7 separate regions of the Homo sapiens genome follow, and all the other regions are linked to region 1. Evidence: promoter capture Hi-C in 16 types of primary human blood cells and fetal thymus (Javierre and others, 2016). All regions are on one chromosome and are shown on one strand. Each heading gives the region's core, a stretch centred on a gene start or on the middle of the fragment in contact. The rest is flanking DNA. Distances are from core to core; before and after follow the strand shown. Region 1 holds the start of AFTPH (aftiphilin). Region 2 holds the start of SLC1A4 (solute carrier family 1 member 4). Region 3 overlaps PELI1 (pellino E3 ubiquitin protein ligase 1). Region 4 overlaps LOC124907774 (a long non-coding RNA gene). Region 5 overlaps SLC1A4 (solute carrier family 1 member 4). Region 6 has its middle 10 kb from the start of VPS54. Region 7 has its middle 29 kb from the start of VPS54.

What was found. The method cuts DNA at HindIII sites, captures the fragments that hold promoters and counts their contacts. A CHiCAGO score of 5 or more calls a contact.
Region 2: the fragment with the promoter of SLC1A4 here is called in contact with the fragment with the promoter of AFTPH in region 1 in 1 of 17 cell types (fetal thymus); the score reaches 8.0 in fetal thymus.
Region 3: a fragment that was not itself captured here is called in contact with the fragment with the promoter of AFTPH in region 1 in 1 of 17 cell types (activated CD4 T cells); the score reaches 6.6 in activated CD4 T cells.
Region 4: a contact is called between a fragment that was not itself captured here and the fragment with the promoter of AFTPH in region 1, in 3 of 17 cell types (total CD4 T cells, naive CD4 T cells and activated CD4 T cells). The highest score is 6.3, in total CD4 T cells.
Region 5: a fragment that was not itself captured here is called in contact with the fragment with the promoter of AFTPH in region 1 in 2 of 17 cell types (total B cells and monocytes); the score reaches 6.1 in total B cells.
Region 6: a contact is called between a fragment that was not itself captured here and the fragment with the promoter of AFTPH in region 1, in 10 of 17 cell types (naive CD8 T cells, naive CD4 T cells, megakaryocytes and 7 more). The highest score is 9.2, in naive CD8 T cells.
Region 7: a fragment that was not itself captured here is called in contact with the fragment with the promoter of AFTPH in region 1 in 15 of 17 cell types (naive CD4 T cells, activated CD4 T cells, total CD4 T cells and 12 more); the score reaches 15.2 in naive CD4 T cells.

The regions. Positions count from the first base shown.
Region 1 is chr2:64,522,460-64,525,922 of GRCh38, forward strand. It overlaps AFTPH (aftiphilin), which reads left to right and starts at 1,869. Exons shown (of 10, transcript NM_203437.4): 1 at 1,869-2,153. AFTPH-DT (AFTPH divergent transcript) reads right to left here and starts at 1,696. Exons shown (of 1, transcript NR_136167.1): 1 at 1-1,696. MIR4434 (microRNA 4434) reads left to right here and starts at 3,054; the gene lies at 3,054-3,106. RefSeq lists enhancers at 1,426-1,645, 1,747-2,247, 2,248-2,748 and silencers at 1,846-2,005, 2,036-2,115, 2,126-2,375. The HindIII fragment of the contact is 6,179 bases long and covers 466-3,463 here.
Region 2 is chr2:64,986,844-64,990,690 of GRCh38, forward strand. It overlaps SLC1A4 (solute carrier family 1 member 4), which reads left to right and starts at 2,556. Exons shown (of 8, transcript NM_003038.5): 1 at 2,556-3,327. The coding sequence starts at 2,801. RefSeq lists silencers at 1,866-2,565, 2,776-2,955 and an enhancer at 2,558-3,142. The HindIII fragment of the contact is 3,825 bases long and covers 1-3,721 here.
Region 3 is chr2:64,093,538-64,097,324 of GRCh38, forward strand. PELI1 (pellino E3 ubiquitin protein ligase 1) reads right to left here. Exons shown (of 7, transcript NM_020651.4): 5 at 2,876-3,073; 6 at 2,588-2,776; 7 at 1-1,731. The coding sequence ends at 1,165. Among named protein-coding and RNA genes, the nearest start is that of PELI1, 49 kb to the right of the region's middle. The HindIII fragment of the contact is 459 bases long and covers 1,612-2,070 here.
Region 4 is chr2:64,064,879-64,068,396 of GRCh38, forward strand. The region is part of intron 1 of LOC124907774 (a long non-coding RNA gene); the gene reads right to left. Among named protein-coding and RNA genes, the nearest start is that of VPS54, 47 kb to the left of the region's middle. The HindIII fragment of the contact is 5,792 bases long and covers 1-3,518 here.
Region 5 is chr2:65,016,944-65,020,492 of GRCh38, forward strand. SLC1A4 (solute carrier family 1 member 4) reads left to right here. Exons shown (of 8, transcript NM_003038.5): 6 at 1,128-1,322; 7 at 1,602-1,736. Among named protein-coding and RNA genes, the nearest start is that of LINC02576, 12 kb to the right of the region's middle. RefSeq lists an enhancer at 83-162. The HindIII fragment of the contact is 3,369 bases long and covers 34-3,402 here.
Region 6 is chr2:64,028,015-64,031,637 of GRCh38, forward strand. No RefSeq gene overlaps it. Among named protein-coding and RNA genes, the nearest start is that of VPS54, 10 kb to the left of the region's middle. The HindIII fragment of the contact is 1,677 bases long and covers 1,420-3,096 here.
Region 7 is chr2:64,046,019-64,049,899 of GRCh38, forward strand. No RefSeq gene overlaps it. Among named protein-coding and RNA genes, the nearest start is that of VPS54, 29 kb to the left of the region's middle. The HindIII fragment of the contact is 2,853 bases long and covers 180-3,032 here.

The DNA.
Region 1 (3,463 bases), core at 619-3,118:
ATGGCCATAATTTTTAAAAGGTAAATAAAAACAATACTATCATTGACTCCAAATGAAATGGACTTTATATTTCCCACAGATTTATCACCTTAAAAACACTCAAATACTTTCCCTTTGTAATAAAATGTCATGAGCATTAGGGCACTGTCTTCGGAATTACATGTAAGATTACCAATTACAAGTTAGTTGGCCAAATAGGTACTCAATTTCCCTATTACAAAATTGTAAGCTGATGGGGGGTGTGCAATTTAATTTAATTTTTTTTTAGACAGGGTTTCACTCTGTCGCGCAGGCTGGAGTGCAGTTTAAATTCATTTAGTTTAAACATGTTCTTAGTGTAGGGTCTGCTTTAAGGTCTAGTCATATGTTCTTATTTTGATATTTCTGTTTAGTAGAGCTGTAAAATGAAAACAAGCATGTGTTCGTTTAAAATCAATTTCTAGTTTCTACACACACACAAATTCAAGCTTGCACACGAGCTAAACCAGCAGGGGGCGAAATACAATAGGCATAAATTTGACAAGCCATATAGATTTTTCTTACTTTAGTGACTGAGCAATAACACAAAATCCAGCATAACCACAAAGCAATTGATACTCCCATTTAAAGTGATGCAGTCTCCGTATATCTTACAGCGATTGAATAGTAAAGAGACAAATGCGGGTCCATTGGAGCGCTCCGAGTTAATTTGTCTAGAACATTGCAGAGGCGGGATAAATCGTGATGAACTGCTATTGTCCTTATCTTTCTCCTGATTTGTATAATTCCTCCACCCAAAGGGGTGGACACTTCTCTGTGCCTGAGGGGATGTTTTCCATTCTTGTTTCTTTGCGTAACTGCTGAGCTTTGCTGTTTTGGAACTATTTTAAATTATTCAAATTACTGATGCAGACGTTTGGCAAATATGGGCAGAATGAGGGGCCGGCGGGGGTCATGATTTGTAGGACCCCGGGCTCATCATCCGAGACAGTAATCATAATCCTGTAGCCTTGTAGTCTGATTGTTACACTGGCAGGTGTTCTAACAGATATTCATTGTAAAGGAGGAGGAAAGGTAATATTTTTATTACCTTTATATAAATAACAGTTGATTATATAAATAATCAACTGTTCAGGACTGATGATGGAAACAAAATCGGTTACGACCTCTGTTCCAGAAATGCGTTTGAATGCATAAGTTTATGGTGATCTCTTTAGCTTCACTAGATATTCTCCGTAAGGGTCTATGAAAAACGACCACCTTCTCCATCCATTAGCCAAATTCCGGACTACTATTTTCTTGTCGGTCTCGAAGACGATTTGTCAGTTTGGCGGCTGCTTTCCCACCTTAAATTCTATTTATCGCAACCTCTTGTTATTTGTTAAATATCAGCTTCTTCCTCTGTCGGCATAAATTTAAAAAGAGGAAGAGACAGGCTGTGAATGAAAAAGTCGTTTTTCGGGGCGAAAAGGGCAAGCTGACGAATGCTCTCTAGTAGGTTTTTGGTAAAAATGTGGTTCTATATTTCCAAACCTTTACAATTTTATTTGGAGAGCAAGAGACTTAATCCGGTCTTGAGCTGAACGTTAACCGGCTGAAAGGAGCACCTGTCCTTCGCCAGGAGCGCAGCCTCAACCGGCGCCTGAGTGCGGGAAGACGTCTATCCCCCTACAGCTCTATGACTCGCAAGGAAGTAAAAGGAAAGGGCAGCTTGCCCGCACCCAAAATGGCGGTCGGCGCTCTGCACGACAGCGCCTGCGCAGGGATAAGCGTTCTGTGACACCAATTCCCCTGGAGTGTCCTCCCCCACCCCACAGCACCCACCAGCGCCCGGTCCCGACCTAGCCACCTGCGCCCGGAAGTGACGTGTCGGCGGCAGCGGTTCCCCCGCTGCATGATGGGAGAGTGTGTGGAGTGGGCGGGGGGTCTCCGCGGAGGAGGTGGAGGAGGCGGCGGCGGCGGCGGAAGAGGGCGGAGGGTAGTGGGATGGGGGTCCCGCGGCAGCGGTGAAACTCCGGGTGGGCGTCCATGGTGCTGCTGCGCTGACAGGGCTGTGAGCAGCCGGCCTTCCGCTCTCACCAGTTCCGCGTCGGAATAGACGGTCCTTCCCCGGGGAGTCAGTTCCTCCCCGGGCCCCTGAGCCATGCCCATCGCAGCCGCCCCGAAGGAGCCAGGTAAGCGCCGCCGCTCCGCTCCCCTAGCTGCGCCGGGGAAAGAGGGTGCGGGGACCAGGCCCGGCCCAGCAGCCAGACCCTCACCCGGGCCGGGAGCATCTGCCCGCCGCGGAGCCGGGAGCTGTGAGGACGGAGCTGGCTCTGCGGGCCTGCGGGCTCCCGGCTCTGCTCTCTTCTGCGGCGAGTGCGGGAACGCCGCTGGTGGCGCCCGAAGCGCACGGCCCCCTCCTCGCCATCCCGGGCACCGGCCGGGTAAGTGGGAGTCCTTCCCTCCCCGGCCACCGCCGGCTCTCCCTGCCCCTTTGCTTCCACCTCCCAAAGCTCCGCGCTGGCTGCGTTCTCCAGGGAGCTGTTCAGAAGTTTGGGGCTTTGCTTGGGCTTCTTCGCTCTCCTTCCCCCTCCCTCGTGACAGGTGTAAACACTGCCTCCTTCACCGAGGCCCGAGGCTGGCCGCGACCTGAGTGTGCTGCTTCCAAGGGTCTCTGAAGCAAGCGAATTTGGAATCCTCCAACAGGCAGAGGGGACAGCCCCAAAGCTCACGCATCCCTTCCTCAGAGTACCTTTTCTGCTGTCTTCTTGCACTCTTCAAGAAATTATCTGCGTCTCCTCTCCAGTTTGCGTTTGAAAAGTTGGACCATATTCCTTAAGTGCCTGGTTTGGCAGGTGCTGCGTCTTGCTTGGGGCAGAGGCAGAGTATGGAGTGAGGGGTGGTAGGGTCCTTGCTCTATTAGGAAAGTAATGGGGATAGCAAGGTTTTTTTTTCCTTGTTGCTTTGTGCAAGTTATAGCTTGGTTATACTGAATCTTTTCTGTTGGGGCCGAGGGAAGAACTGACTCATACATGTAAATTTTTTACTGGGCGGGGGGATGAAACAAAAGTAATGGTTCCGTTTCAAAGTTCTCACTTTAGGAGAAGTAAAGTAGAACTTTGGTTTTCAACTTTTCCTACAGTGTAAGTCTTCCTTCCACCTCCTATTCCGAGGATTTTATTTGGTGGAGGGGAGACACAGAGTTTATCTTTGATGCTACACTTAATTGTTGCTTTCAGTTAACCTCTTAGACATTAAAATATATGCTAAACTCTAGGGACAACAAATGTTTCAACATTATTATGTTAATATAATTAACACAGTCACGTACATTTTATATGCTTTACCAGTTTAAATGTTGGCTTTTTTAGTAGTCATTTTTAACACTTCGCAGAGGTATATTTGTTTAAACAAAGTATCTGTGGTAGTCTCCTAAATTTTGTTCATAAAGATATTTCACATGGATTAAAAGACAGATCTTGTGTAAAACATCTAGCCCAGT
Region 2 (3,847 bases), core at 1,306-3,805, 470 kb after region 1:
GTAAAACAAAAATTACATTCCCTAACGTTTCTTGCAGAAAAGAATGGTCATTTGACTAAATTCTTATCGATGAAATATAAGAGAAATAATGTGTATGACTTTTAGGAAGTGTTTTTAAAGAGAGATGCCATGCCCTCATTGCTCTTTCTTTTCTGCTGGGTGAAAGCTGAACTTTATCCTAACATGTATATTACTCATTAGGAAGATTAGCCTGGGGCAAGGCAAAATACAGGATGGTTGGAACAAGAGGAGCATTGGAGGTGGGAAGACTAATTGGGAGAACATTTCAATAGCCCAGATAAGAAGTGAGGAAATAAGAACTGAGCCAGTGTGGTAGCAGTGGGAATAGATGGGATGGGCAGATGTGATAAATATTGTGAAAGGAATCTCTGTGGGACTTGGCAATTCATTAGATGAGAGAAGGCACCACAGAGGGAAGAATCAAAGTTCGCTTTGAAGTTTCACACAGAGGTGACTGGGTCATCAATTATGTTTTAACCGAAGGGATGAGCAGGTTTGAGGAAGGCAACCATGAGTTTGGTTTTGAACATTTTAGTTGGGACGCCTGCAGGATATTCAGGTGAAGATGTAAAACAGGCAGCCGAAGACTCATTTCTGGAGCATGATTTGAGAGTCTTTTGCATAAACGTGGTAGTCAAAACAAAGGGAAGGGCTGATTGGCAAAACACAGTGTGTGTCTGTAGGAATTACTCTTTCTTCAGTGCACATAGAGAAATGAACTGCATTCTGGAAAGCCAGATATAAATATGTGCAGCTCTTCATCTGACACTACCTCCCCCGCCCACCCCCCCCCCCCCCACACACAATCCTTACAAGTTCTAGCCAATAGCTGGCTGGCTCCAAGCAATAAAATACTCACTGTCTCAAAATTTGGACAGCTCCTTAAAGTTCCTTATGAAGGCATTTTGATTTGCACAAATATGTCATGACATGTTTTAAGATGACTCCTTTATAGCAAGAAATCTATAGTAAATTGCCTTCCTCCTTAATTGAGGTTAGCCACAATTAAGTCTTCCCTTGCCTGGCACAGTGGGTGGTGCCAGCTACCAAGGAGGATCCCATAAGCCCAGGAACTGGGAGACCAGCCTGGGCAACATAGCGAGACCTTGTCCCAGAAAGAGAGGAAAGAAAGGAAAGAAAGGGAAAGAAGGAAAGAAGGAAGGAAGGGAGGGAGGGAGGGAGGGGGGGAGGAAGGAAGGAAGGAAGGAAGGAAGGAAGGAAGGAAGGAAGGAAGGAAAAAGAAAAAACAAAAGACCACCCACGGAAGTCTTTAAAGAACAATTCACAAGCAGAATAAAAAAATATAAAAATATAATAACTGTGATACAGTAAAAAGACTCAGCAGAAGTTTCCCTTGTAACTCGCGTGGCCAAAGCAGATATCAAATAAAAGATGAAATAAACAGGAAATCCATAGAACGTGAACAATAAGGAACCGTTCAGGATGGCCAAACCGCCGTCTGCGCTGTTTTCTCGCCAGGGCTCAGGCCTGGGAACGGAAGAGGTTAAAATCCAGTGGCTTGTGTTTCAGCTTTGGTTACGTGGCAGAAACCAACTGGAAGTGGTGGCGTGAGAGCTCTGTTTCTTCTAGAAGAGCTTTGCGTCTTAAACGCCCATACCGCAGACAGCTGCCTGGCGGGCGACCCAGCCCCATCCTGATGGCCCCAGGACACAAGCCCAGGAGCGCCCCGGTGCGCGCGGTTCCGCGGCCCAGGGGCGCCGGGTTTGGTGGCACAGCGAGCCCCCTTTCTCTAGCGGTATGGCTGCGTTAGAGCCCTAATGAGCGCGTGCGAAGGCTCCCCTTATTCATCCATCCTCCGGTCCGTCCTTTGTCTCAAGGCCGGGGCCTTGCTGGGCACCATGGCGTGCTTTACCGCACAAGCCCCTGAGGACCCCTGGAAGAAGGGATCTTCCGCAGGAGGGGACGCGACGGCAGGACCGCCCCGGGCCCCCTCACCGCGCCCGGCCCCCTGGCGGGAGAGGCCGGCGAGCTCTGGAGAGGAGCGCGGGCCGCGCGGGGCGAAAGCGCCACCCGGGAGAGAGGGATCCTCCCCTCTCCTCCTCTCTTCTCCCCTCCCCTCCCTCCCCTCCCACAGTCCTCAGGAGGAGGAACGCCGCTGCGTTCTAAGTTCTCCCGGGCCCTCTGGCCCCGAGGACTCAGATCCCGGCCGCGGGAGAGGGCCCGGCAGGTGCCAAGGAGCCCGGGCGGTCCTTCAGCCCGCACTTCCCCGCGGTCGCCCGGAGCCGGCCTCCGTTAGCCGGGCGGGTAGGCGGCTATTGGCGCCAGGATTGGCCGGCGCCGCCCGCGCCCCCGCGGCCTCGGGTGGAGCCTCCCGCCCGGCCGCCCCCTGCGGCACCCGCGACACGGGTGGGGACCAGAGGCTCCCGGCGGCGGCTCCCGGCGGCGGCTCCCGGGCTGTGATTGGCCAGCGCCACAGGGGGCGGGACGGCGGGCGTGAAGTGAGCGGGCTGGGGCCGCTGGCGCGCCCTCCTACTTCCCCGTCTGCGTCCGCGTTCGCGGCTCCCGTTTGCATCATCTCCAGCCGGCGGCTGCTCCAGGGAGGCTGGGCGCGATCCTCTCCGCCCGCGGCTCCAACCCGCACTCTGCGCCTCTCCTCGCCTTTCTCGCACCTGCTCCTGCGCCAGGCCCGGAGACCCCCGGGGCGGCTTCCCAGAACCTGCGGAGCACAACTGGCCGACCGACCCATTCATTGGGAACCCCGTCTTTTGCCAGAGCCCACGTCCCCTGCCACCTCTAGCTCGGAGCGGCGTGTAGCGCCATGGAGAAGAGCAACGAGACCAACGGCTACCTTGACAGCGCTCAGGCGGGGCCTGCGGCCGGGCCCGGAGCTCCGGGGACCGCGGCGGGACGCGCACGGCGTTGCGCGGGCTTCCTGCGGCGCCAAGCGCTGGTGCTGCTCACCGTGTCCGGGGTGCTGGCGGGCGCGGGCCTGGGCGCGGCGTTGCGCGGGCTCAGCCTGAGCCGCACGCAGGTCACCTACCTGGCCTTCCCCGGCGAGATGCTGCTCCGCATGCTGCGCATGATCATCCTGCCGCTGGTGGTCTGCAGCCTGGTGTCGGGCGCCGCCTCGCTCGATGCCAGCTGCCTCGGGCGTCTGGGCGGCATCGCTGTCGCCTACTTTGGCCTCACCACACTGAGTGCCTCGGCGCTCGCCGTGGCCTTGGCGTTCATCATCAAGCCAGGATCCGGTGCGCAGACCCTTCAGTCCAGCGACCTGGGGCTGGAGGACTCGGGGCCTCCTCCTGTCCCCAAAGAGACGGTGGACTCTTTCCTCGACCTGGCCAGGTAACACTCTCCACCTCTCCCAGGGCCCAGTGGGAGACGCCAGTTCTCGGATGCCCTCCAGTTCATACACCCATATGCTTATACACTCCTAAGAGTTAATTCTTAGCTGGCTGCTGGTGGCGTTTAACGTTTTAAAAATATCAAAATGACGTCTGGAGTTTTTGCGTGCTGACCACACCTTTGCAAACAGCTGGGGCGCACCGCACAATCGAAAGAGCAGGGCCGCATCTTTGAGCAAGAACCAGTCCCCACCGTTAGGTGGGCGTTTGTTAGGGAAGAGCCAGCCGCCCCGCCTGTTCTTTACTCCTTATACTCTCGCGCTGCTCTCCCCGGTAAAAATGTTCCGACCACGCCCCAGTGGCTTCGCCTCATTTTCTCCCACATGGTGCCTAAAAGCTTCTGGGAGCATTGGTTAAGTTTTGCCTCTTGGGTCATCCGGCTTGCAATCTATGGCCTTCTCTGTTACAGTCCTTGGCTGCGAAGGAAGCTGGCAATTTTCTGCAGTTATCAGTGGACCCAC
Region 3 (3,787 bases), core at 591-3,090, 430 kb before region 1:
ACTCCACGCTGCAGTCATTGGTGCTCATCTGCCAACCAAACATTTCCTTAAGTCTCACTGTGGCAATCTCCTTAGGATTCAAACCCAGAGTTAAGGCTGGTCTGCTAAAAACGGGGGCACTATTGTCATTCAACCCTTTAGATCTCTAGATTTCCTAATGCCCGAATAAGGCCAAATACAGAATAATTAATTAAGCATTTCTTTTTCCAAAAGCAAATCAAGTCACTCTCCTTTCTTGCTAATTTATACTTTTTCTTATGGCAATGATTTTTTTCTAGAAACAGTGAACAGATGAACCACAGTTTATATCCAAAAAATAAACTTGCCAAATGCTGCTGATACTAAAAACAGATTAGTTATCATGGGAGAAAAATAGATAATCTAGATTAAATTGCATATCCAAAGGAGCATATAAAATGTTTCTTAGCATTAAGTTTTTGTTATAGTACTACGCTCGAGAGAAACATTAAGAAAAAATCTTTCCTGATTATCTTCAATGTTGTTAAAAACAAACACCTTTCACGCGGGTAATTAGTATGAATTTGGTCTTACAAATTACAAAGTATTCTAATTTACCAAATTCCATATTTAGATTGGGGTGGGGAGAGAGGCTCTCTCGTCCTTCTTCCTAACTTTGCAAATCCTTGAGCTAGGTTGCTCACTAAGCTACCATTCACACCAAGGGTGTGACACCATCGTTACCATGCTACTCTATCAAGAACATTCTAAGGTATTTTCTATAATAAAGATAAATAGAAAAAAGTTAATATACATGTCGCTGTATTTTACAATGTTTGCAACAAACTGTAAACTAACATAGTTTGAACCAACAGTACCCTCAGTTATACAAAACAATTTCAGCACTGAGGATAGGTGATTCAAAAACACTAAAAGGAAGGCATCAAATTAGACTATGTCTTTTTCTCCTCAAAATATATTTTCAAAACTCAGAATTCAGAAGACTGATACTTTCAGAAATTCCTTTGCTTGAGTTTCCCAGATTTTTGCTCAGAAATTGCTACTATTTATTATAAATGTTTTAAAAAATTCTTCATCTTAATGCAAATGACCAGAGCAGAAAAACTGTGACGTGGACAACAGGTTCGAAAACCCAACTCACTTAGCTTATAAATTTATAATGTAGTCCTGCAAGACAATGGTCTGTTAGTCTAGAGGTCCTTGAAAAATAAGTCTGATGTAGCCTTGTTCACCAGCCAACTGATGTGCACAAAAGGGACAGGCTGCATGAAAAGTATGAGTACCATGAGGAAGTGGGATCTGGGACCAATAGGCAGTTGTCTTTTCTGAACACACATGCCCACACGGGCTAAACGCATGGGTTGGAGGGCCGGCGTCCACATAAAATCCAGCTTCACATCCAAGCCACAGAGGAACATAGGGACCAACAGACCTACACATAGGACATTCACGATCTTTTCCATCACGTTCTTCTTTGTTTCCCCAGTTATGATAGCCATGTACATGGCCGCAGTTTAGATATACCCATGGTTGTTTTTCATCTACAACGTCTTTCCTCTTCATACTAGGAAATGCTAGTGTGTTGAACCCTACAGGGCACTGAGGTCGTGCTGCATTGATTTCCTGTCTTAAAGCTTCTAAATGCTTCACGGTAGGAGTGTGGGAAAGGCCTTCTGCAGTACGCCATAACAATGTTGCACCACAGAGGTCAATTAACGAGCCATCTTGTAACTGATTGGTTTCAATTTCCACCTAGAGGAGACAAGAGTTGAAAAACATATTCACCACTCTGTTTTGGATTTTTACATAAGTGTTTTGGTTTTAAGTACTCCTTACTCAAGAAATGAGGTTTCCTAGGATTTTCACTAAATATTCAAGAAACTGACAGTAGTTATGAAAAATGTTAAGTTTGAAAATCAAGGATAAAATATCAAACATTAACATATTTCTTTTTAGCCTTATGGTAAAGACAACTTATGATTAAAACATCTGGCTAATCAATAAGTCTAATATTTTTAATGAGGTAAATATGGTTTAAGATATACAGATGGCAACAGAAAAGATCAGAGGGAGTGCTGTTTAGTTTAAGAAAGCTTAGGTTTTAAAATATATTAACATGATATGACAGAAGAATGAACTTCCAGAGTTTACTAAAATGCTCTTGTTGCCCAGGCTGGAGTGCAATGGCGCAATCTTGGCTCACCGCAACCTCTGCCTGCCAGGTTCAAGCTATTCTCCTGCCTCAGCCTCCCGAGTAGCTGGGATTACAGGCATGCGCCACCATGCCTGGCTTATTTTGTATTTTTAGTAGAGACAGGGTTTCTCCATGTGGCTCAGGCTGGTCTCGAACTCCTGATCTCAGGTGATCCATCTGCCTCGGCCTTCCAAAGTGCTGGGATTACAGGTGTGAGCCACCGCGCCCGGCTACTAAACGAAATATTAAAGAGACTGTCCTCTAGTATAGAATTTGGTAGTCAGTGTTTGATAGACTTAGTATTCTGTGTTGGCAATAGATTTAAGAGTTTTCTGGAATGTATGTAATGCATTCAGTTCTACTCATCCTATGTGTTTATTGTAGCTAATTAAGAAAATACCATTCAGTATTTACCATTTTTCCTCTCTGCTGAGCCGATCTGGTTTCACGTAGGCTAAATACATTTCCACACACCGATATTTCTCTCCATATTCCAGGCTTGGAGTCTTCTGTGAACCCATTGCGTGGATGCATCACAAGAACACCATTAGTGGTCAAGCCATCCATCTGTCCATCTGATGTCTTCCATTTGGCAGCCTTCTCCTAGTAGAAATAATAGCAGTGAGCTTCCAACTTGTAACTTGTAACTTGGAATGAAAGCTAGTATAAAAGAAAGCATCATTTAGAAAAAAAGCTTTTTACCCCAAGAAAGATGTTTTTTGATGAGTCAAATCCTGCAGCATAAATCCGTGCTGTAAAGGGAGGATTCCGTTCACATATGATTCTGCAGGCAAATCTTGATATAGTGCTTTGTACTGACTGTGTATCAGAATTACTTTGACTTCCAGGAACCGTGTCAGTTACTACAAAATCAATGGGGCTTTCAGTCGACCGGCCAATCTGAGGGAAAAAAAAAAATACCTATAAACCCATTCAAAGAGCACAGTGGAAAATCCATTCAAGAAGGGCACAATAAGGAGAGAACATTAGGTCTCTGAAATTTCTAAAGTTGAAGTTTACCATACTTAACGCTGGGGGCATCTATACTCTTGAAAACTAATCAGTCAGACTGTCTCTGATGAAGTAATCACTTAGAGCATGGAATTAAATGAGAACTTACAATAATATACGAAACCCTTAGGGAATGAAGAATTCAGGAACGGCTGAGATTTCTAGATGGCTGCAGATTTTAATTTTAACCCTTTTGGATGGAAATATGTGTATCATGTAGTTTTTTTCTCTTTAGAGATATTTAAAGAGATATTCTACCTTATTTAACAGAATATAGTGAACATATATAAGTAAATCTTTTAGGATGACTGCAGAACATTACACTATAAATACCACTTACGTTAAGCTGAAATGCAGTGATGTCTTCAGGTGCTACAAGAGGTATACAAGGCTGCTGGTCCTTATGTCAAGGGCTTACACAGCCTTGCTTTGAGGTCTTATGTATACTTCATATATTTTCTTGTTTCTTTTCTGTCAGGTTGTCAGCTATCACTCCTTGTTTTTGGTCATGCTTGTTTCCAGCAACAAGCCCCTCTTTTAACTGGCTACTCTTACTCTGTTATGGGTTGAGAAATCAAATAACCTATTTCAGAGAAAAGTATT
Region 4 (3,518 bases), core at 842-3,341, 460 kb before region 1:
AAAGAAAAAAATGTATTTGTATATGCTAGTGAGGCAGAACTTGGAAAAGTGCCCCTGAACAGATCACAGATACAGCCAAGAAGAACACAGGATATGATGTCAGAGCCACTTTCTCATGACTGGAAGGGAAGATAAAAGCAGCAGGCAGAGGCCGGGTGCAGTGGTTCACGCCTGTAATCCCAGCACTTGGGGAGGCCAAGGTGGGCGGATCATGAGGTCAGGAGATCGAGACCATCCTGGCTAACATGGTGAAACCATCTGTACTAAAAATACAAAAAATTAGCTGGGCGTGGTGGCGGGCACCTGTAATCCCAGCTACTCGGGAAGCTGAGGCAGGTGAATTGCTTTAATCTGGGTGGCGGAGGTTGCAATGAGCTGAGATCGCGTCACTGCACTCCAGCCTGGGCAACAGAGCGAGACTCTGTCCCAAAAAAAAAAAAAAAAAAAAAAAAGCAGCAGGCAGGAATTTGGGACATTCAGAGAGTACCAGCACAGGGTTGCCCCAGATGAGTGGAGGGTGCACTAAAAGAAGAGGAGGCATGTATCCTGCTTTCTGTTTGGAACCGGGGTAACTACAGAGAAGTAGCTTGAGATAGTGATTTCTGTTCTTTGGGGTCATGCATGGTCTTTAGGAGATCCAGTGGTAGAATGATAAAGGCTAATGGGATGAATGGGCTGGAAGAGGCCTGGCCCTTGGGCCAAGAAGTTGTGAGGCTTATGGTCCTTGCCACTGAGAGCCATGGCAGGGGCCGTGGCTGTCAGTAGTGGAAATGGTTCTAGGCCCAAAAGCCGGAGATAATTTCCTCATCAAGGGAGGCCGGGAGAGCCTGGATGATGGCAGACAGACTTGCTCTGCCAGTTTTTCAAGACCCGAATGACATCTTAAGAAAGAGAAGTGGGAGAGGAGAACCATTGGATCAGGGAGAAACCTTGAAAGATTGAGTGAGTTTCCAAGGAAAACTGTTGTAAACGTAAAGAGACTGTGTTACCTTTAATTGGCAAGATCAAGTGTTTCCACCTACGTTAGGAATGGGGGCTTTCCAGCAAGAAATCATTATCGACAATGAAGTTGCTTTTTTTTGTAAATCTAGTTTTTAGTGAGTACATTTAAACCCTGCTACATTAGGAAGGTCTGTATTGCTACCAAATAAAGAGAACTCAGCTTGACATACCCCTGCCTCTAATGGAGAGAGGGGGAGGAAGGAGACGGAGGGGAAAGATTGAGTCTGTCAACAGTAGTTACCTCCAGGGAAGATAACTGAGGGACAGAGAAGGAAGAAAAACCTATTTCTCATGGAACGTTTTCTGTACCTTTTGCATTTTTTCCATATGCATGCATGAACTATTCAAAAATAAATTAAAAGGGGAAAAATAAGTTTCTGAAATGAGAAGCATGCAGATGCACAGAATGTGATATTCAGTGCTTGGCAATTAACCTTAAATAGTTTTCATCTCACCAGAATCTTTGAGCCACTTCTCCTCAGTGTACCTTGTGGTTATTCCCTTCATTTGTGTAGGTGTTGGGTAAGCTGTCTGTCTTGCCTTTCCAGCGAGCCCATGACCCATTTGTGCATGGTACTCCAAACACTGTACCACCGACCCTACAGGTGGCCCATCGCTTTTACAGGGGAAAACAATCCCACTGACCCATTTGGTCTTGCCCTTCATCCTGGATTGAGGTGTGGGAAGGATTAATAAGGGTTTTTTGTTCTCACCCTGGTTATTTCCACCCCATTGGCATCACATAACAATGGGGAAGCAGTGGAAAGAACTTAGGTGCTGGAATCAAATTTGCTAGGGCTTACCTCTGCCAGCTACTAGCTTTAGGTACTTGGGTGGGTCTCAAGTTTCTTCTTCTATACATTGGAGTAATACAAACCTCACTGGGTTATCACAACACAATACTAGAACTGTTCTGATTACCCCAACCCCCAGTCTAAGAGACCAGACTAATTTTTGTAAAATCTCGCATCCAGCCAAACTTAGCATACCTATTGTCCCTGTATTCCTCAGTTTCTACCCAAGACATAAGCCTCTTCATTCATCTGTTGTATCCCTTACTCTCATTTATATCCTTCCCCGTATTTCACTCCCTTGACTCAACCTCCCTCTGCTTCCCTCTTTTAAGTAGTATGTTTTCATTTGCAGGCTACAGGAAACTCAAGTCTAACTGGTTTAAACATTAAGGGCATTTACCGACTCAAGTAACTGAAAATTCAGCAGTGGCAAAGGCCTTGGGTTACCTGCCAGACAGACATACCAAGGGCCTTGTTTCTTCTCTTTCTCTACTCTCGCACCCTCAACGTGAGCTTCATTCTGGGATTGGCTCCCCTCGTGGTTATACAGGCTGGAGGTCAGCAGCAACTGAGCCTGCATGCTTCTGCATTAAGTCCAGAGGAACTGAGGAGTGAGTCTTTAACCATCAAACAAAAATCCTGGCCTTTCATTAATTAGAACAACCTGAACCAATCATGGTGACTAGGGGAATGCCATGTGCTAATTTGCTTAGCTCTGAACTAAGTTATCCATTTTTGAGCCAATTACAGTGACAAGGGAGTTGAGATTATGATGACTGATTTAGATCAGAGGTTCTCAACTGGGAGCAGCACTGCCTCCTTCAGAGTATTTGGAAATGTTGCTCTGACTGGGAGTACCACTGGCTTTTACTGGAAGAGGGATGGGGGAGGGGAGACACAGGACAGTCGTGTGGAATTTTGGTCTGCCAAAAATGCCAATAGTGCCTCTATGAAGAAACACTGACTTAAAACATCAGGGCACACTTCTGAAACAGGAGTTTGTTTTCCCTTAGGTACATAAGCCATACTGGGGCAGGATGGACACCTAAACAAAAATGACTAGACTACTCAGGCTCCTTCCTAATCTTTATTGACTCCCTTCTATCTTTACTTAGATCCCTGCTCAGCCTATTATGTATTACTTTTAACTAATCTCTTGACAATGTCATTTACTTCCTAGCCCCATTCTGCTGTACCTACCCAGATAAATCCTATAGTGACACTGACTTGAGAAAGATACTTTCAAACCTTTTAAAAATCAAAGCTATAGGCCAGGCGTGGTGGCTTATGCCTATAATCCCAATACTTTGGGAGGCCCAGGTGGGGCAGATCACCTGAGGTCAGGAGTTCAAGACCAGCCTGGTCAACATGGTGAAAGCCTGTCTCTACTAAAAGTACAAAAATTAGCTGGATGTCATGGTGGGCGCCTGTAATCCCAGCTACTCAGGAGGCTGAGGCGGGAGAATCGCTTGATCCCGGGAGGCGGAGGTTGCAGTGAGCAGAGATCACACCACTGCACTCCAGCCTGGGCGACAAGAGTGAGACTCCATCTCAAAAAAAAAAAAAAAAAGCCAGTGTAGTGGCTCATGCCTGCACTTTGGGAGGCCGAGGTGGGTGGATCACAAGGTCAGGAGATCGAGAGCATCCTGGCCAACATGGTGAAACCCCGTCTCTACTAAAAATACAAAAATTAGCCAGGTTTTGTGGTATGCGCCTGTAGTC
Region 5 (3,549 bases), core at 468-2,967, 490 kb after region 1:
CCTCACATGATTTCTTAAAATGACCAGCCCCAAAGCTTTTCTGTATTCCCCTGGGGTGGGTTTCTGTTTCATTTACTATTCTACTGAAGTTACCTCATTCTCTTCTCCCTCTTGCTCCTTAGAGGTCAGCAGATCATTAGTTAGCCCAGCTGCGGGTCCCTCACCCTAATTAGGAAGACCTTTCCCTGAGTAAAAGAAGGCAGCCCACCTAACTCAAAAATGCATTGCAGGGAAGTTTCTAGAATGGTTCCTGCCCAATTCTCCCTTTCTGGATATGTGAATTAGAAAACGAGTCTGAGGCACCGTGGTGAGGGATGGATGCTTAGCCCTCTAGGAGTCCACAATAGTGTGGGATTGTCTCATTTGGCACAAGAGATGCATCCTGTCATTCACTGGAAAACCTTAAAAAAAAAAAAAAACACTGGGTTTTCCAAATATGTTAAAACTTTCAAAGGACGGCAGCACGTCGTTTCATTCACACATTTAGTTTTGCCTCTACTGCTCACTTCCTCCCAATCTGGATGGCTATTTATATAACACAGAGGTGGGAGTAAAAAAAAAAAAAAAATTAGGGAAGGAAGTTCCTCTGGCCTAGACAAAAACCTGTTTCTCAGCTGCACCAACTAACCTCTGCAGAGCCCGCAGAGCCAGCTAGAGGGAGCAGGTACTGTTCTTATGGTTATCTACTTAGTTATTCTTCCAAGCTCACAGAGCCATTTCTGGGTTTTGGCCTAAAAGAAAAAAAAATCATAGTTTACCATTTACTTTTGGGAGGGGAACACTCAAGAGAGGAGATGCACATGTAGAGAAACTAGTTGTTTGTTCTCTCGGGAACGTTTTGCACCGGGAGGCAATGTGCAGTTCTTAAGAAACTTGGAACACGTGAATCCAAGTAAATGACAGAATAGGTAAATGAAGGCAGTCATATTTTAAGTATCTTGGGAGTTGCCAAAGCCTCATGTTGTGACAGAAGTTTTAAAGTGATTCTGTTTTTTCCCTTATTTCAAGAGAAGAAAGCCAGAAACGAAGATGGTGCTAATTGCTCTGTTCTGGGGTCTGAGACAAGACACATGTTAGCCTGCCTCGGACTGTTGTCATGTCTGGCGGTTTGTTTTTCCCATTTCTAGCTCAGCGACCCTTCCCTCTATGATGAAGTGCATTGAAGAGAACAATGGTGTGGACAAGAGGATCAGCAGGTTTATTCTCCCCATCGGGGCCACCGTGAACATGGACGGAGCAGCCATCTTCCAGTGTGTGGCCGCGGTGTTCATTGCGCAACTCAACAACGTAGAGCTCAACGCAGGACAGATTTTCACCATTCTGTAAGTTCCTCATTCTTTCCCTGGCTCAAAACTGAAGGCTTTTCTTGTGATTTCCTTTGAAAAACCAATCTCACCACAACTTGGTGTCTCGCTCATAAAATGAGGACAGTGGGGATTCATTACTTGAAGAGCGTGTGTTGACTCTCAAGGGCGTAGCCAGCAGAGCCTATGGTGGGGCGGTTTTTAGTTTCCAGCCACATTGCAGCTGCATGGTCTGCATTTCTCTGTGTCCACTCCACGCTCTATGTTAATGGCTGGCCCTGCTCTGCCATCCCTTAGAGTGACTGCCACAGCGTCCAGTGTTGGAGCAGCAGGCGTGCCAGCTGGAGGGGTCCTCACCATTGCCATTATCCTGGAGGCCATTGGGCTGCCTACTCATGACCTGCCTCTGATCCTGGCTGTGGACTGGATTGTGTAAGTAACAAGTCCTGAGAACACCAAAAAGAGTCTGCACTGAGTTCCCTAGGAGCTTAGCACTGCTGGGCCTGGGCCATGCAGAGAAACTTCAGACACACTCCAGCCTTGTGAAGGAGGCTACAGTGGAGCTAAAAGGGCAAGATTTAGAGCTAGGAAAAATTAAACAATATGAGAGTCACATGCCCCCAAACATCCAGGAATGACCATGAGATGTCATTACCAAGAACTTGCTTATAGCATCCAGTAAAGCAGGGGTCCACAGCTGAGGCCCTCAGCGCAGGCCCAAGGGACACGAGGGTCTATGGAGTTGCTGACTGCATAGGAGTAATAAGTCGATGGAGCAGTGATCCTTTGGGAATGATTGTCCCTGGCCTGGAAGATTCTAAGGAGTGATTTCTGTGAGGGGAGGGAGGATGAACCATGCTGATGTGAGTGACTTGGGCTTGGGCTCAGCAGAGGAGGAGGTAGGGAAGAAGGTGTGATCCAGACCACATCTCTGGGGCTGCTGTGAAGACACAAAACAGTTTCTGTGCATGGATTCCTTGAGTCACATGATACCTTTTGCAGGCATGAATAATATCTATTTTATAGGGAAGGCTGCCTGAGGTACTAAAGTTGAGACAGTAGAGCCTGTGGGTAAGAAAATGAGCCCTGGAGCCCAGGTGCCTGGATTGAAATCCCAGATTTGCCATCTAGTAGTTGTGTAATGTGCACTGTGTGTGCTTTGGTCTGCTCATCTGTAAAATGGGAATGATCATAGCACCCACACCAGGGTTGTGGGGAAGATTGAGCGAGTTAGCACGGGAACAGCACACAGAATAATGAGCACGTGGTAAAACATTCAATTCATGTCAGCAAAGAAAGACACTCCAGACCAGGTTCGTCACAGGCAGGGCCTGGCACTGGGCTCACGGACTGGCCTGCTGCAGGTGGGAATGGTGGTTTTTCCAACTTGAAGGGGCTTCTCAGAGCAATGAGGGTAAAATCTGCAAAAGAGACCTGCATTGCGCAGACACCTCATCAGAGGGAACTCCGTCCCTGAGCTGGCCAGCTGGACAGGACCAGAGCTGACAGAGGCCCCCTCTCCTTCCTCACCCAGCCACCTCCTGTGCGTGGAGAAGAGGCATCAAAGAGGTGCTTGGCCAGGAACAGGGAAACAGGGCACCAAGCCGGCTGCCCAGTGGAGACCTGAAGTCACACAGGCCTGCCAGCCACCCCATCCCCTCTGATTCTGCAGACAGCAGGACGGCACTCTGCAGGGAGTCAGCTCCCCAGTGCCCTCAGGGAAGATCACATTTTTCCCTCTCTTCAAAATGTGCACAATACTTCCTCTGAGCTCCAGGGACAGGGGAATGGTATTGGCTAATCTATAACACAACAAGCTAGCTTCTGGAAAGGATAGTGATATTTTCTTTGAGATGGTATTTATATTTGCCGATGGCAATGGAACACATATGAAGATTAACATCCGCAGTAAAGTAGCGTTGAAATGAGAAAAAGAAGGGAAACTCCCACAGTGTATTATTCAGTGGAAGAAAAGCTAGACACAAAACCGTATCCACACTATTATCCCAATATGTTTGTTTATTTGTTTACTTATTAGAGTCAGGGTCTTACTCTGTGGTCCAGGCTAGAGTGCAATGGCATCATCATAGCTCACTGAAGCTTTGAACTCCTGGACTCAAGCAATCCCCCCACCTCAGCCTCCTGAGTAGCTAGGATTACAGGCACACTCTACCATGCCCAGCTAATTTGTTTATTTTTTGTAGAGATAGGATCTCACTATGTTGCCCAGGCTGGTCTCAAACTC
Region 6 (3,623 bases), core at 1,008-3,507, 490 kb before region 1:
CATTTAAAACTTATCTCAGGAGAGGAGAAATTTTGTTTAAAACTTCTCAAGGAAAATTGTGGGCAATTTAGAAGCCATACATTGCCAGAGAAACAGAAGCCAGGGTTGGCCTCCTAAAGGATTTTCTCAAGAACCACCTTATACATCAACTGGGTATGCGACAACACCAGCCGTTGCTCAGGAAGAACCCCCTAAGGGGTAGAAATACAAGGGATACAAATTCTTACCCCACTATATAATATTTTTAAATGGAAAAAAATAAAAATCAAGCAGTGAGGAAAATTTTGCAAGCCAAATAGAGACAAAACAACCCTGAGCATCATAAAACTAGGCAAATTTAACAACATAATCCAAAGTAAGAGATTAATATAAGAATGGATTGCAATTATGTAATGGATTTTCCTGGATACCAAAATGCATTATAAAGGTCATTTAATTCTCATGCCACTGTCTGGTCATTTTGGTTCCCATTACACCAGGCAGTAAAACATCTGTATTTTTTTACTCTCTTTACTGCTATGAATTCCTGAGCTCTAATAAAAAGTTCTCAATCAGAATCTGGTTTCAATGTAGAAGTCTTACTTCCAAAAATCTTACTTTATATTTAGAACAGCATTTTTTTCCCTTCCATGCTTTTATTTAATAGCTTTTAAGCCAATATATAAAATAGAATTAATAAACTCAAAAGAAAGAAAACATCACTGAAATCAGACTTTTAGGACAGCAGATGCCTCTCATTTGACAGACGAGGGCTGAGACAGATCATGTTTTAGTGGTGGCAGCTGATTTCCAATCAGAAACCAGGTTTAAGGACATTAAGACTAGTGATCTTTGCCTCGCACTATACTGAGGAAATGCTATAACAACAAATAGCTGGAAAAGTAAGAATTATGTTAACTGAAATTAGTTATTACTTGAATTAAAAAAAAATTGTATTCTCCTCTCACTGTCCCCAAAGGAAAAGTTAGAACTTTCACTAAAATATGAAGTTTTTCATTACTTGTAAGAAAAAACCATCTTGTAGGAAAGATTTTGCTTGGTAACAGATGTTTAATAACTTAGGAAATAATCAACATACATTAATTTATTATTTTAAATACTCTTTACCAGTTCTTAAGTCCAAAGATAGATCTCTTGTTTGGTTGCAAGAATCCAGTATTTTAGAAAATGTATAGCCTATTTTCGTGTATTCTTCCTTCATAAATATGCAAAAGCCTATTTCTATTCTTCTAAGTTTGTCCCAACTTTACTTTGCAGATCAGTATGCATAGCAAAAGAAATGTAAAATGAGCATAAAGGACACATTTACAAAGCATACATATTTCTGTGTCTATTACAAATTGAAAGTCAGGCAACTGACAGTTTTTCCCCCTGCAGAGCTCTACAACAAGCATACATCAAATCAATGAGCAAACAAAAAGCTTGTATAAATGGCTTTGTCTTTATGATTAAACTGGCTCACTCATGCATGCCAGTGGAGTGCTGCTTTGATTCCAGGTGGTCAGCATATCTCTCTGGTTAATGGCATCCAAGAAGGAAATTGCTGATTCTTTACTGCCTGCCGACCTACCTATATTTTGCTCCAGTATATTGGTGGCTACCTCAGTTACTCACTACTTGCCCCCAGAATGAGGTTAAATTTGTCAAAATTATGATTCCCCTTAATGATGGAACCAATATTGTGATTCTCATTCTAAATCTTTTATTGTAATGAAGAGGTAGGAAAAATATTTCTACACAAGAACTCCTTAACCCCCAGCACACATCCTCATTCTTAAATAAATATCCAGATATCCATTCACACTCAATGGATATTTATCAAGGGTGTTCTGGGTCCTATAAGCTAGCAGTAAGCAAGACTGGTTCCGTTCATGCTGTCATAGAACTTACAATCTGGAGTGAGAAGAGAGACATTAAACAATTATAGGAATTGTTCGACAACAGTTAGGATATGTATCATGAGAAGGCAGAAGTTAGGAGAGCTTGTCAAGCTGAGTATAATTTAACATAGATAAATAGAGAATCCTTGCCCAAGAAAGCAACATTTAAACTGAAAAATGAATAGGAGTTGGTCAGGGTAGAGGAGTAGTGGTGGTGAAGAGGAAACAGCCAGCAGAAAGAGGCTCTGAGGCATGAAGAACTAGTAGGCTAGTAGAGGAAACAAAGGACCAATGTGGCTGGCATTAAATGAGACAATTGGGCCAAAGCCAGAGCATACAAGAAGGTGTAGGTCTTGGTGGAGTTTGAGCTTTATTATAAACTATAATAGGGCTTTGGGCAATGAGGTGACATAAGCATGTTTTTAAAAGATCGGTTTGACCCACTATGTGGAAAGTGAATTAGTGGAGATGACCAAAAGAAGGTGTGGCACCTGCAATTAGAAGGTTATCCAAGGGGTCCAGGTGTCAGGTAAAGACTAAGACCAGTTAGACAGATGTCTTCGTTGGCTTGGGTTGCCGTAACAAAATACCATAGACTGGTTGGCTTAAACACCAGAAATTTATTTCTCACAGTTCCAGAGGCTGAACTCAGGGTGCCTGTATGGTCAGGTTTCTGGTGAGGGCTCTCTTCCTGGCTTGTAGATGGCTGCCTTCTACTTATGTCCTCATATGGTAGAGAGAGAGAGAAACATCAGTCTCCTCCTCTTCTTATAAAGACATTAATCCCTTCAAGGGAGTCCCACCATCCTGACCCTTTCTAAACCTAATTACCTTCCAAAGTCTCATCTCCAAATACCATTACAGTGAGGATTAGGGCTTCAACATATGAATTTGGGTGGTGGGACACAAACATTCAGTCCATAACAACAGATTGAAGAGATATCCTTGGAGACAGAATTGACAGTACTGGGTGATTGGCTGGACAAAGAAGCTAAGAAATGGGTAGGGATTAAAGATGATTCAGGTTGGGTGCAGTGGCTCATGCCTCTAATCCCAGCACTTTGGGCAGCCAAGGCTGGCAGATCATGAGGTCAAGAGATTGAGACCATCCTGGCTAACGTGGTGAAAACAACATAAAAAGGGAGAACAAATTTATTGCTTCATGTCATTAAGAAGTCCAAGGTTAGGGATGACTTAAGACATGGTGGGATCTGGAAGCTTAAATGATCAAGCAGGAACCAATCTTCCCACTTCTCTCAGCTTTACTGTCATTCATTTAAAAATATTTATTGAAAAGCTACTGAGTCCCATGCTCCATTTTAGACACTAGAGATGCAGTGGTACAAAAGACAAGCAAGTCCACTATCACTGCTTCTTTTCAGCATTGCACTGGAGGTTCTAGTCAGTGCAACAATTCAAGAAAAAGACATTTTTAACAATATAAGAATTGAGAAGAAGGCTGGGCACTGTGGCTCATGCCTGTAATCCCAGCACTTTGGGAGGCTGAGGTGGGTGGATCATGAGGTCAAGAGATCGAGATCATCCTAGCCAACATGTTGAAATCCCATCTCTACTAAAAATACAAAAATTAGCTGGGCGTGGTGGCGGGCGCCTGTAGTCCCAGCTACTCGGAAGGCTGAGGCAGGAGAATGGCATGAACCCAGGAGGCAGAGGTTGCAGTGAGGCGAGATTGTGCCACTGCACTCCAGCCTGGGTGACAGAGCGAGACTCTGTCTCAAAAAA
Region 7 (3,881 bases), core at 356-2,855, 480 kb before region 1:
AGGTGGCTTCTCCAACTCAATGTGCATAAGAAGCACCTGGAGCTCTTGTTGAAATGCAGATTAAGATTCAGTTGCTCTGGGCTGAAGCCCAAGACTGTGCATTTCTATTAGGCTGGTGCAAAAGTAATTGCGGTTTTGATGGCAAAAACCACAATAACTTTTGCACCAACCTAATAACAAGCTTCCAGGTGGTGCTGGCGCAGCTGGTCTGCAAACCACACTTTGAATGGCCAAGTTCTGTGGCCTCTTGTCCTTCCCTGCTAGCTGGAAATTCACCTTATAACAAATTCAAACCCACTTTGGTCCTTTGGGCTAAAACCGATCCAAGATTTAAGATGTTCAAATTGGGATGGTTAACTGATCCCATTACATGTTCTGCCCTGCAAGTTAGAATGCGGACTTAAATGAAAAATTAAACTATAGTCAAGATTTTAAAAACAGTTGAGGCTGGGCAAGGTGGCTCATGCCTATAATCCCAGCACTTTGGGAGGCCAAGGCAGGTGGATCACCTGAGGTCAGGAGTTCGAGAGCATCCTGGCCAACATGGCGAAACCCATCTCTACTAAAAATACAAAAATTAGCTGGGCATGGTGGCAGGCACCTGTAATCCCAGCTACTTGGGAGGCTGAGGCAGGAGAATCACTTGAATCTGGGAGGTGGATGTTGCAGTGAGCCAAGATCGCACCATTGCACTCTAGCCTGGGAGACAAGAGCGAAACTGTGTCTCAAAAAAAAAAAAAAAAAAAAAAAAATTGAAAATGTGACCCACACTCTCCATATTCATTCATACTCTCTATGTCCTTTGATTTAACCAGTATTCTTGTCATACCTTAATCTCTTCTTAATGAATAAGATTTAAAAAGATGTATCGATGGAAATAATGTGTTAAACAACTTATCTGTTGACATAGCAAATAAGTAGAATTATTTTAGAAAGCTATTTAGTAATCTGTATCAAGATGTTGTTTTTTTACACCAGAATTGTTTCAATGTTTGTTTTACCCCATATTCTCATTCTTGATAATTTATTATACAAAATTATAATATTTGCTGAGCATTGCCACATGCTCTTCACTGTAATGGATTGTAGATTAACTTGCAGTAAGGAGAAAAGCACTTTCCACAAACATATTTATTTCAGTATGAACTAAAATGAAAAACATAGGAAACTAAACTTCAACAACTAGGTAAATTTTTATATAACAACTCAAAGGAATAATTCAAGACATTAAAAATGTGTAAATTATAAAATTGTGTGTTAAATGAATGCAAATAAAAAACTATAGAAGCAAAAAAAAAAAAAAATGAAAGTTAAAGAGGCAGAATTTTAAATAAAATGTTGCCTTAAAAGTTACTTGAGGCTGGGCACCGTGGCTCATGCCTGTAATCCCAACACTTTGGGAGGCCGAGGCGGGCGGATCACAAGGTCAGGAGTTCGAGACCAGCCTGGGCAACATGGTGAAACCCTGTCTCTATTAAAAATACAAAAATTAGCCAGGTGTGGTGGCAGGCGGCTGTAATCCCAGCTACTCGGGAGGTTGAGGCAGGAGAATCGCTTGAAACTGGAAGGCGGAGGTTGCAGTGAGCTGAGATCGCGCCATTGCACTCCACTCTGGGTGACAAGAGTGAGATTCCACCTCAAAAAAAAAAAAGTTATTTGAAAAACTACACACACACACACACACACACAAATGTGTAGAAGGATCAGATAATACAAGGCTTCATTTCATTTCTTTGGCTGTTGAGGCAACTTTTAAAAAGCCTTCTCTTACACCAACAAAAATATTCTTGTCCTTTCCTGCTTTCATAGCCTACATCTTCCTGTTTGTGAATACAGGTAGGAGATGTTGGAGTGGCAATCTGGGGCTCTCCCGTGGTTTACAGTGAAGAAAATAACTCAGTTTCATCAAGAGGCTGGCAAATGTTTTGCAGATATTTTACAATTGTATCAACCATAACAATGCCACAGATTCTACAAGGCTAAAAACCAGGCAGCAAGGCATTTGTCTTTCGGCTATTTTTGCTTAGAAGTTATTGGTGTTTGGCCTTATTTTCTTATATTGTAAACTTTTTGGATATTGGATATTTAGTTGTAAATGTCAGCTTGTTTATATTTGAGTTTACTCAACATTGGAATCCCTAAGGAATTCTTGAAGTTTGATAAATTCCCAGATACAACGGCACAATTCAGGGAGAGGAGTTTAGAGTCGTGAGTACCCTTTGCAGGAAGATAATGGTAAGCAAAACCTACTCTTAAAAGTTGTGTTGGGGGGTAGACCACAGTAGCTGATGGATGGTGAATGGTCTCAGGGTGGGAGTGGAGAATGGAGAAGGAAGAGGAGGCTCTGGGGCATAAAATGATGGGCCCTATACTAGCACCTCATTCTTGCTTTTACAGGGGAGGGAAAGACTTTTCCTCTACCCTCCTAGGTTTAAAATTTGAGTCTGTGAAACAAACTGACAATACGCAGATTAACCGGAGAAAAGGTATACAAATTTATTGCATGGATGGGGCATCACAAGAGAAAAAAAAATGAATACCCAAAAAAGTGGTGAGATTTGGGAGCTTATACTGTCTTCGTAGGGGAAAGAAGAAGAGGGATATGGACAACTTAGGAGAGGGTAAATAATTTGGGGGAAAGAATGAGCCCTTAGGGAGATGGAATCGTTTGTAGCAAACTCTTACATTCTATTATAGATGTAATAGAAGTGGTGTCCACTTCTAATCTTCTGTCCTGTTGTAATAGTCAATCTTCCTGGTTGATTAACCTACCAGAGAGGGGAATTAATGACAACTGAGTTCATTTTGGAGGATCTGTCTTCAGGCAGGTAAGGGAGAGTTCAGAGAAAGCCTCTCCCTGCATTTGCTGTCTTTCAAGTGTCTTCAGCTTCAAATAATTAGTATACCAAAGTAGCATATTTTGGGGTGGCATGTCCCAAATGCCTTTGCTTTCTTTTTTCTGAGTTTGGGAAATGTTCTTCCTTTTCTTGGGCACACTGTCCCCACCAAAGACAGAACAAACAAACAATTCAAGCTTTTATGCAATGAGATAGACACTGTGCTAGGCCTGCTCCCATTTTTGGCCTCCTGCAAAAATCCCAAGGAGCAACCTGGGAATATTTTTTTTTTTTTTTTTTTTAAGATGGAGTTTCGCTCTTGTTGCCCAGGCTGGAGTGCAATGGTGCGATCTCAGCTCACTGCAACCTCCACCTCCCAGGTTCAAGCAATTCTGCCTCAGCCTCCCAAGTAGCTGGGCCTACAGGCATGCGCCACCACACCTGGCTAATTTTTGTATTTTTAGTAGAGACGGGGTTTCTCCATGTTGGCCAGGGTGGTCTCAAACTCCTGACCTCAGGTGATCCGCCTGCCTCGGCTTCCCAAAGTGCTGGGATTACAGGCATGGGCCACTGCGCCCGGCTGCAATTTGGGATTTTTGTAGGAAATCAGGAACAAGGCTCAGGAATGCTGTCCTGAAAATGATCAAATCCTTTCACCTGCCTGTCTTGCTAGGGGCGTGGAGAATACATAAAGGTACACAGAACTAGAAGGATGGAGGAAATAATGAGGCTGTCATGGGAGATTTCCTAAAGGTTACTATGAATTAGCTAATTTGTGATACCTTGTTGCTAATTGCTGAAGAGAGGCTGCTCTTTTATTCAGAGTTATGGCTATGCCAGTTCCTTCTGGGCACTATTCATATGCATGAGTTTGCCTCTTGTTCTACATCAGTGCCTCCTGGTTTGCCCTCCTCTTTACACTCTTGACATGCAGAGGTGAAGGCAAGTGTGGTTGTGCTTTCGTTAATTTTGTATGGGAGGAAGTGGTTGTTCAGTGACCTTGGAAAAGCCCAGTGCTGATGTTTTACAGCAGGTGGCAGCCTT